Regions from separate parts of the Homo sapiens genome. Here region 1 is linked to region 2. The links are contacts of gene promoters, found by promoter capture Hi-C in blood cells and fetal thymus (Javierre and others, 2016). All regions are on one chromosome and are shown on one strand. Each heading gives the region's core, a stretch centred on a gene start or on the middle of the fragment in contact. The rest is flanking DNA. Distances are from core to core; before and after follow the strand shown. Region 1 holds the start of RAD18 (RAD18 E3 ubiquitin protein ligase). Region 2 holds the start of TADA3 (transcriptional adaptor 3).

Region 1 (4,582 bases), core at 1-2,500, 830 kb after region 2:
GGGCGACCCGGAGGGGGGTCATGAGCCTGGACCTTGACAGATCTGGTGAGGTCTGGATTTGGTTTGATTCCTGGCTATCTTTTCTTAATATTCAACTGGCTCTACGCTTTTTAACCATTCACTTTCTTCAAGGTAAGTGCGGCAGAAGCCTGGCGCATGCGCAGTACAAGCCCTTAAGCGGCGCCCCGCCCACATACTACTACAACTTCCGGCAGGCTCCGCGCCCGCCTCTGGCGCGTCGCGGGCTGCTGACGTAATGCGGTAGCGCGGGGAATTTCGAGTGGTGTTGGAGCGCCGGAGGCTAGTGGGTGGCTGACCCCCAGCATCCTCGGGAGCGACCATGGACTCCCTGGCCGAGTCTCGGTGGCCTCCGGGCCTGGCAGTCATGAAGGTGAGTGCTTCGGGGAGTTTGGGAGCTCCCGGGTGTCTGCGGGGGGAGGTCCCTCCCTTTGAGGAGGATGTCCTCGCCTTAAGGAGAAAGGATGAGGCGCGAGCGTCGCACTGGGCCCGGGTATCCGGCTCTGCCCTGCCACTAGCCGACCGCGTGGCTCTGGGTCTCAGTTTACTCCTCTGATAAGTGACAAGGACAAGCCTGGTGAGCTGAGGTTGGCAGTCTTATGGCACCAGCTATTCTGCGATCCAATCCCAACAATAACATGGAGAAAAACAGTTATTCCAAACAATGACATCGACAGCTGTTCTTTACTGAAAGCTTACTTTGTGTCAAGCACTAAACAGTGACACCGGACATGATTTTGGGTGGACACTTTATCAGATAACATGTATGTAATCACGTAGCCAAGCAGGTAGTCTCCTTTACAGGCTCTTTCATTTCTTCTGATTATTCTCAATAAACGTAGTGCTCGTTTGTTCTGACATACTGCCCCAACTCCTCTCTAACACACCTTCACTCTTCTCTAACAATTGCTCATGTCTCTTAAACAGAGATCAGGACTCAGGCTCAGCGCTGATCTTGCATTGCGTCTGATTATTTCACTTAAATAACATTTATTTTTGTGGCCACTTTCTGTTTTGGCAAGGCATACCAGTTTCCATTTACAGTAGTGGTGGGCCCTGGATTTGCTCAAGAGCAGATGCACTTTGCTGTGCTGGATAAAGATCAGTTGCTTGGTGTTTCTTCTTGCTCTGTGATTATTTCCGTTTCTCACAGTGGCTAAGATAGCCTTCTTCTCCCTCAGTTTTGTAGACTTGGGGATTATAATACCTGTCCCACTGACTCATAAATTTGACTTTAGAATTAAGTGAAGGCTAAAGTAAGTAGAAGGCCTTGTTCTTCCTGCTGTCATCAGTGACGTCTAGAGTGCTTGGGGACTTGAGATATCTGCATGATGAGAAGCTGACATTGTGAAATGATCCAGGAAAGCTGTAGTTTTGGAGTTGTGGGCTTGGCACCAGGATGCAGTGGAGAAGAGCACAGATTTGAGTTCCAGTGGTCCTGGGTGAAATCTCCTGTCTGCCTCTTGACTGTATGACCTTCGGTTAGTAACTTAACCTCTCTGAGCCTGAATTTCTTCAACTATAAATTAGAGACAAAAATAACAGTTCATAGGATTGATTAAATAAATTAGTTGATGTATGTGGGCACAGATTCTGCTGTGTATTCACTGTGCTTACTGCAGTGCCTGACACCAAGTGGGTGCTCAAATATTATTTGCTGCTTGATTGAAAGTATCTGGAATGTAGTAAGCATTCAATGAATATATTTTATTATTATTAGCACTGTGTTAAGTGCTTCTTTCCCCTTTTAATTTGTTGTCATGAAGCTTGACTTGGATAAGGAAAGTAAAAGAGCTCTGTAACCTGTAAAGCTCCTGCTTTGTAGATTTAAGCACACTTTACATATTCCCACAATTTCAGTGTTCTTTAGAGGCGGGTTCCATGTCTTCTCTGACTTTGGTATCTCACCACAGCACTGAATGTAGAGTTTGGCACCACAGAGCGTTCAGTGAGTGTTCAACCAGAGAGTTGATTGAGCCCGTATTTTTTTGCTCACATTGGAATCATGGAATCTTAAGGTTAGAAAACCAGCCCCTTTCAGTATTTTAATCTCCTTTATAACACATCTGCCAATTTCTCACCTAATTTTTGCTTGAACTCTTCCAGGCACAAAGAACTATCAGATCCCAGAAGCAGATCTGACTGAAGTTACTTCTTTTATTGAATAGAAGTCTGACTCAGAATCCATGGTTGCTAACTTAGGATTCACAGAAAGACTTTGGAGTCTCAAGTTATTTGTAAAATTTTTGCATGTATGTTTTTCTGAGCAGAGAGTCCATAGTTGTCATCCATTTTTCAAAGGGATCTGTAACCCCAAAAACTTAAGAGTATTTTTGTAATTATTACGTTTTTCCACCCATTTTCTACTTCTCCCTTTCACTTTCTCTCTCTCTAAACTAAAGAAATTTTGGGGAGTCTGCTGACCACTCTCTATTCAGGCATCATTTTTTGTTTAGTTGGTTGAGGCGCATGTGATATGCATGTTACTGTCTTGGAGTGACATGACAAGAAATTTGAACCAGAAATGGCTCATCTGATGTAGTGTCAACTTCCACAATTGTGCTCTGCAGATCTTTCAGAATCATTCCTCCACCAGAAGAGGATGGCATAGATAAGAAAGTGTGATATAATAGACTGGTTCTGGCTTCTGGGCCTGCCTCTGCTCTTAATTGATCTTGAACATAACCCTTTAGATTTTTGTGTCTGTGACAGCTTACCATCCACAATAATGGAAGATTTTGGCATTTTATTATTTCCCTGGTTTTACTTTAACAAAAATTTACTGTTTTTGGCATATTGTAAATGTAATATGTGTACACGGTAGAAAAAAATTAAAATTCAGAATAAGATAAAGGAGAAAAATAAAACCATCCATAATTCTACCACCCAGAGAACCAGTGTTTAACATTTTACCTTATTTTCCTTTGGTTTTTGTGCATTTAAAATTTGGGATCACTGTGGAGTCAACTTCTTGGGTTTGATCCAGCCAACTTAGGAACTCTGTAGACTTTATTTTTAAAATTGGGATACTGATGCTGTGGACTTCATAAGATTGCTATGAAGATTAAACTACAGAGTTGTTATTATTATGTATTATTGGCATAGGTTTGTTTTCTGATTTTTATTTTCCTAGGGCATTAATTATTCTTTGAAAGCATGTTTTTTAATGGCTGCATAATATTTCATCATATGGACCATTAGCGACATTAGTCCTTTTTTGTTTACATTTTTAAAATTCAGGTAATAGGTTCACATGGTTCAAAATACACATAAAATAAAAAGTAAAAGTCTCCTTCTTACCATGTTCCTGGCCCTGATCATTATTTATGACTTCTTGTTTATCTTCTCATTATTTACATTTACAATGAAAATAGAATGCATTCTTTTTTCCTTTTTTTCTTTTTTGAGATAGGGTCTCACTGTCGCCCAGACTGGAATGCAGTGGCAATCACGGCTCACTGCAGCCTTGAACTCCTGGGCTAAAGCAATCCTTCCGCCTCAGCCTCCTGAGTAGCTGGGACTACAGGCATGCGCCACTACTCCCAACGAATTTTTAAATTTTTTATAGACATGGATTTTTGTTATTTTGCCAGGCTGGTCTCAAACTCCTGGACTCAAGCAGTTCTCCTGCCTTGGCCTCCCAAAGTGCTAGGATTACAGAGCCACCATGCTAGGCCTATTAGAATACATTCTTACTCACCTCTTCCTTTTAAACAAACCGTAGCATAGTATATGTACTGTCTATACCTTATTTCCTTTTTTCACTTATCTTGGCAATCTTTTCATATCAGTATGATGGAGAGCTTCCTCTTTTTTTTTTTTTTTTTTGAGACAGTTTCACTCGGTCATGCAGGCTGGAGTATAGTGGTGCGATGTGGGCTCACTGCAACCTACGCCTCCTGGACTCAAGCGATCCTCCCGTCGAGAGCTTCCTCCTTTTAAAAAATATTTCTGTTGAATGGAATAATATTTTATTTTAAACAATTTGAAAGATTTTAGGTTGCCAGAGTAGTTCCGTTCCTGTTTGGATTGCATTCCAGGTTGGCACACATCTCTCTTTCCAAGTTGTCCACTTTCCCTTCCTCTGCTTTCACTGCCCCAGCTCTTTCCAGGCTTCCTCATTTGGCTGCATGTGTAGTACCATGCCGAAAGCACTGGACTGCCAGACGGGAGACAGGAATTTTGGTCTTGGCTTGACTGATGCCTACTATTGTGTGCCTGCTTTTGATACCAGTTTCCTCTTTTGACTAGACAGTTTCTGGAGTTTGGCTTTAACATTCTTTGATTTGATTCTTAACTTGTGTGGTGGCAATGGCCACCTTTCACCCAATAGTGACTATAGGCTAGGTGTTGGAGTCTGAAGAGGAGGAGGCTTGGAGTAAGAGCTGGAAGCGCATTAGAAGTGGAACAGAAGTACAGTAGCCCTTATGTGAAGGGATGACAATATGGCACAAGAATCGGTGTGCCATCATCTTTAGCTGTCTAAAGCAATTTGGGCAACCTGAGACTGAATGTATAAGAGTCATATGAGAGAAGTTTTTATTTATTTGTCAAGATCCCTTGC
Region 2 (5,774 bases), core at 1,988-4,487:
CAGTACCTAACATATACAGTGTCTCACTCATTTCCTGTAGAATAAATAAGCGAAAGAAATAATTAAGATTAGAGTAACACAAAAGGACAGCAAGAGTTCCAGAGTAGTAATGAGTACAATGTTTCTGTATATGAGAAGCATTTTAGATTCACTAAATGAGGCTGCAGCGGTAGGCTGAGGTAAGATCATGGGGAATCTTGAATGCCAGGCTACCAAGTTTAGCTTTTCTCTTAAGGGGGTAAGGAACTACTGGGGCTTTCTGAGGAGGAAGTTCATGACTGCAGCTGCATGATGGCTCTGTGGAGAATGATTTGGAGAGGGAAGTGAGACATACAGCAGACTGTATCACAAGCAAAGAGTATCACAAGCGTTGGACTGACATTAGATGGAGTGGATAATGGAACTGAAAAAAAACTTCCCAGGGGCTCACGCCTGTAATCCCGGCACTTTGGGAGGCCGAGGTGGGTGGACCACCTCAGGTCAGGAGTTCAAGACCAGCCTGGCCAACATGGCAAAACCCCGTCTCTACTAAAAATACAAAAAATTAGCTGTGGCGGGTGCCTGTAATCTCAGCTACTTGAGAGGCTGAGGCAGTAGAATTGCTTGAACCCAGGAGACTGAGGTTGCAGTGAGCCGAGATCACGCCACTGTGCTCCAGCCTGGGTGACAGAGCGAGACTGTGTCTTAAAAAAAAAGAAAAAGAAAAACCACTTCCAACGAACTGTGGTCCAGCCATTCAATTAACTACTACTTGGTAATAAAAAAAGAGTAACTATTGATACACACAACATGGTTGACTCTCAAATGTATTATGGTAAGAAGCCACACTTAAAAGCCTGCATACTAAAGAATTCCATTTACATGACAATCTGAAAAAGGCAAAACTACAGGGGGGAAAAATCAGTAGTTGTCTGGGGTGGGAAGGAGAGGACTGATTACAAAAGGGCTTGAGGGAACTTTTTGGGGTGACGGAAATGTTCTGTATTTTGGTTGCAGTAGTGGTTACACAACTTGACTTTTTTTTTTTAAGACACGGGATCTTGCTATATTGTCCAGGCTGAAGTGCAGTGGCTATTCACAGGAGTGATCACAGTGTACTACGGCCTCGAACTTCTGGGCTCAAGTGATCCTCCTGCCTCAGTGTCCTGAGCGGATGGTACTACAGGCGCATGCCACCATACCCAGCAAGTTTTTGCAACGCTTTTTTTTTTGAGACGGAGTCTTACTCTGTTGCCCAGTCTGGTGTGCAGTGGCACGATCTCGACTCACTGCAAGCTCTGCTTTCTGGGTTCACGCCATTCTCCTGCCTCAGCCTCCTGAGTAGCTGGGACTACAGGTGCCCACCACCACGCCCGGCTAATTTTTTGCATTTTTAGTAGAGAAGAGGTTTCACCGTGTTAGCCAGGATGGTCTCGATCTCCTGACGTCGTGATCCGCCCGCCTCTGCCTCCCAAAGTGCTGGGATTACAAGCGTGAGCCACCACGCCTGGCCTTTGTCAACAGTTATAGAAAGTAAACCTAAAAAGGGTGACTGGCTCCGTGACGCCTGTCCTTTCATGAATAAAACAGATGTAGTCTCATGTAATACCTCAATAAACTTGAACTTTTAAAAATCAAGAGGCATGTGCCCCACTAGAAAAAAAAAATACAGATTTTTAGCAGAGACATGAGGTCACAAAAGTTTGCCAGGATAGGGAACCCAGGAGGAAGAACAAATTTAGAATAGAATATGAGTTTTGAACTAGAGGTCTAATTTCAAGGTCTCTTCAAGATATCCAGGCAAACCTTGAAAGAGAGCTGAGAAGCCAGATTAGGAGTCATCAGAATGAAGAAAGTTATCGAAGCCAGGAGACTAGATCGGTATCACCAGGGAAGGTGTGACGAAGAGGGAGATGGTCATCCAAAGTCACAACTCCCAGGAATGCCCACACGTATGAAAAAGGCCCACATGTATGAAAAAGGCCCACATGTATGAAAAAGGGAGGACTTCCAGGAAGGGAGGGATGAGCAGTATCACAGCTAACATACACTAAGGCTGACACAGTTCAGTTCTGACCAGGAAGGGCCTGAATGGAAGCAACACGAGAGATCCTCCAATGGGGTGGAAGCAGGGCTGGAGGTACCAAGAATGGGATAAGGAAGTGTGGCCGCCTGCCTTAAGCAACTGTAGGGTCAGGAAGGCAGAAGAGGACAAAGGGCGTATGTCGTGAAGTTCCACTGTGGATAGGCAGGTGGACTTGCTTCATGCCTCAGAGGCTAAGAGGCCGACTACGTACCCTCGAAATGCTCCAAAGAGCCTAGGAGACCCCACTTCCGGGTTCCTACAGGGCTCAGGAAAAGCCCCTACCTGCTTCGAAGGCTGACCGTGAAGCCACAAGGCCCACTTCATACCAGGGAGTACCCCCACTCGCCCCTTCCTCACCTCGGGCCCCCGCCCCGTCTCTTTTTCCCACCCTCATCGTGTCCCCACAACCCCCGGACATCCCTCGGCCCCGCGCCCCTGCGGCAAAGCCACATCTCCCACCGACCCACTGCCCTGAGGCCGAACAGCCGGGGGTCCCTGGCCGGGGGCCCGGCTCTCTCACCATCGCGGGCGCTGGCTGGGCCGGAAAGCGGAAGTACGGAAGTGGCCAGCCCCGCGATGCCTGCCCTTTCGCGAGAAGCGCAGCTACGGTCTCCGCCCGGACTTCCGGACGGTACCATCTATGCTCCGAGCGGGGTAGAGAGCCCTTACGAACGCTTGGGCCTTCCGGAAGTTTTCCACCTAGGGCTGTCTCGGTATTTTTAAATTCTTGCACTCGAGTCACTATTTAAGCTCCTCCAGGAATGGGTGCAGCTTCCCTTTGTGCCTTCGGCCTTCTTGTCACCTTTGCCACAGCCTCCCCCAGGTATGCAATGGTACAGCCCAGCTTCAGATTGGGCACCAAATTAGGACAAGCCGAAGCGGACGAGCCCTTCGTTTCTTCCGGTTCTGTACCCCCATCCTTTCTCTCGCCCCTCCTACCCGCAGCTCCTGGCGCTCGGCGGGGCTAACTGCAGCGCGGAGATCTCGGCCGCCAAGCTCCGCCTCCCGCCCCGGGCTGTGCCCCGGGGCTCGCCTGAGGCCGACCACCCGCACCCCACCTCTAGCGGCTTTGCTCGAGGCCCACCTTCTTCCCACCCCCGGCAAACTCCAGTAGGCTCGCCCTCGCTGACTCCCCGCCCCCGCGTCAACTGCAAGGGGCCCGCCCATAGCCAGTTCCGGGGCGGTTGCTCACATCGACCGGAACTCCCCGCCCCCTCCCGCGGCCCCTGGGGCCGTAGGAGGCCGCAGCGAGGAGGTAGAGGGGGCGGGGGTCGCACTAGGGTGTCCCTAGAGAACGAGGACTCTGAAGGCGGGACATTTGGGCGACCCCCGGGCGGGGCCAGCCATTAAACAGTCCCACTTCTGTGCCAGACACTGAACTGGGCTCTTGACGGGCATCATCTCTTAATCCTCAGAACATCCCAGGGAGGTAGGTACTATTGTTATCCCCATTTTTCAGATTCAGACTTTTAATGGGGAAACAGACCGAGACTTCTTTTGTCCCCATTTTACAGATGGAAAAACTGAGACTGAAAAAGGTCAAATAACATGTTCAGGGGCATATAAGTAGAGAATGGTAAAGCCTGGGCTTGAACCCAGGTCTGTCTGGCTTACCAGCCCACGTTCTAAACCACTGTTAGTGACTAGAGAAGGGAGAAAGGTGGAATAGGGTAAGAAAAGAGGCCAAGAGTCCCAGAGAACATGGTAAGAATGGGGTGCTTGGAACTCAAAGTCTTAGCAGAACCCAAGAGAAATAGAAGGGAAGGAAAGAGCATCAGAAAGGCGAGGCAAGGCATAGCAGTATAGCATGGTGATCAGGGTGCAGACTCAAGACTAGCGGGGTTCAAATTGCATCTTGGAAGCATAGGCACATACCCACCCTTACAGAGTCTCAGTTTCTTTCTCTGTAAAAACGAGATCACAATGGTCCTTGTTCATGGTGCTGAGTGAGAAATTCAGTGAGATAAACTGATAAAGTGCTCTGCACCTAGCTTGGTACCCAGTTAAGTGCCCTGTGAGTAGGAACTGTGCCATCAATTTTGTCAGTAAGGGACTGAAGCTGGGCTTCCTTGAGGCTGTCCCTGGAGGTAAGAAGCCCTTGGGCTTTTCTCAGACCACTTTGTCTCCCATCAATGGCCCTGTCCTCTCCAGCTCCACAGGATCCCCATATCCTGGGCCATGAGTGAGTTGAAAGACTGCCCCTTGCAGTTCCACGACTTCAAGTCTGTGGATCACCTGAAGGTCTGTCCCCGCTACACGGCAGTGCTGGCACGCTCTGAGGATGATGGCATCGGCATCGAGGAGCTGGACACCCTGCAGCTGGAGCTGGAGACCCTGCTGTCTTCTGCCAGCCGGCGCCTGCGTGTGCTTGAGGCCGAAACCCAGGTGATAACCCCAGAGAGGGGCCAGCACCAGAGATGGACTGCAACAAGTTATGGGATGGGTCATTGAGTTAGCCCCATATGCTGAGACTTGGGGTACAGGGGTTTGTGGGGAGAGGGAGAGAGACGCAAACTGGGTTTGCATGACACAAAAAATACACAAGAATATGCATGATCCTCTTAAATTGCAAGATTTCTAATTCAGTAAGCTTTTATTGGCACCCCACTCATCCCCCATTGTGTTCTGGGTCCTATGCTAGTCATTAGAGAAAGGTAATTAGGACAGTTATGGCTGTCAGGGAGCTTGGCAACTAGGAAAGTGAGAAAGTCAAGTACATACCAGGTGATGTGATGTTGTGGTTAGCAGTCCTAGGGAACTGGAATGGGGAAACCTGGATTTGAATCCTGGCATAAGCGCTTGCTAGCATTGCTGTTTCCTAGCTATGTGACTTTGAGAAAGTTGCCTCATATCTCTGAGTGTCAGTTTCCCTATCTGCAAAGTGGGGTGAATAATAGGACCTACCTTAGTGCTTTTGTGAGGATTAAAAGAGAATTTTTTGCAAAAACTCAGCCCAATGCCAGACACTAAGTAAGTACTTCAGATGTTATTTATTTGCTACTCTGATGACTTTATTCACTGCATAAAGATGCCTTGAGCCTTGTGTGCCAGGCGCTATGCTGTATTCTGCAAAATAGAGATGGTTAAGGTGGGCTTTCTGGTCCTCAGTAGCTTATGGTCTAGTTGAAGAGACAAGGTGTGATGGTCATTCCAGTGTGACCAAACAACACGATTGGGTGCACGTTGGAGCTGTGAAGTGCCAGAGACTTGTGGAGGAAGGAGGTGCCAACTGGACCTAAAAGGATGAATGGAATTAACTTGTCCCTGGGAATCCATGGACCCTCCTTGAGGAAGGCTATGACTCAAGTTGTATTTTAGCATCTAAGAACCTGGGTAACTGATTGAGAGAAGGCATCTCAGTAGTGGTGACATCGAAGTGAAGGTTTGCTGAGAGGACTCTTCTGTTAAACAGTATGTGACTGGCATGGGTGATACAGAAGTGAATCAGTATAGATGAACAAGTGAATGAGATTATGAGAAGTATATGAATAAAGTTCTAGGAGGCCAGGCACAGAAAATGAGCTGAATTTTGAAGGATGAGTAAGAGTTTACTAGGTAAAAAGAGGATGGGGAAAGACCCAGGAGCCTCTGTAGATTCTAGATCCTAATTTATTCACTAGAGGAAAGAGATATTCTGTGTTTTCCCTTCTCCCCCTCAGTGACACTTTCTGTAAATTTCAGATCCTCACCGACTGGCAGGATAAGAAAG

The links. Contacts are between HindIII fragments. The CHiCAGO score rates a contact against its expected background, and 5 or more counts as called.
Region 1: a contact is called between a fragment that was not itself captured here and the fragment with the promoter of TADA3 in region 2, in 4 of 17 cell types (fetal thymus, total CD8 T cells, naive CD4 T cells and 1 more). The highest score is 6.4, in fetal thymus.

Annotation. Positions count from the first base shown.
Region 1 is chr3:8,959,144-8,963,725 of GRCh38, reverse strand. RAD18 (RAD18 E3 ubiquitin protein ligase) reads left to right here and starts at 254. Exons shown (of 13, transcript NM_020165.4): 1 at 254-391. The coding sequence starts at 341. RefSeq lists an enhancer at 237-406. The HindIII fragment of the contact is 1,072 bases long and covers 715-1,786 here.
Region 2 is chr3:9,789,936-9,795,709 of GRCh38, reverse strand. It overlaps TADA3 (transcriptional adaptor 3), which reads left to right and starts at 3,237. Exons shown (of 9, transcript NM_006354.5): 1 at 3,237-3,494; 2 at 4,217-4,450; 3 at 5,747-5,774. The coding sequence starts at 4,244. ARPC4-TTLL3 (ARPC4-TTLL3 readthrough) reads right to left here and starts at 3,162. Exons shown (of 12, transcript NM_001198793.1): 1 at 2,586-3,162. The coding sequence starts at 2,588. ARPC4 (actin related protein 2/3 complex subunit 4) reads right to left here and starts at 2,628. Exons shown (of 6, transcript NM_005718.5): 1 at 2,586-2,628. The coding sequence starts at 2,588. It also overlaps a transcript of OGG1 not described here. RefSeq lists enhancers at 1,963-2,052, 2,252-2,778, 2,753-2,852, 2,779-3,305, 4,410-4,910 and silencers at 2,983-3,272, 3,333-3,422. The HindIII fragment of the contact is 10,858 bases long and covers 1-4,657 here.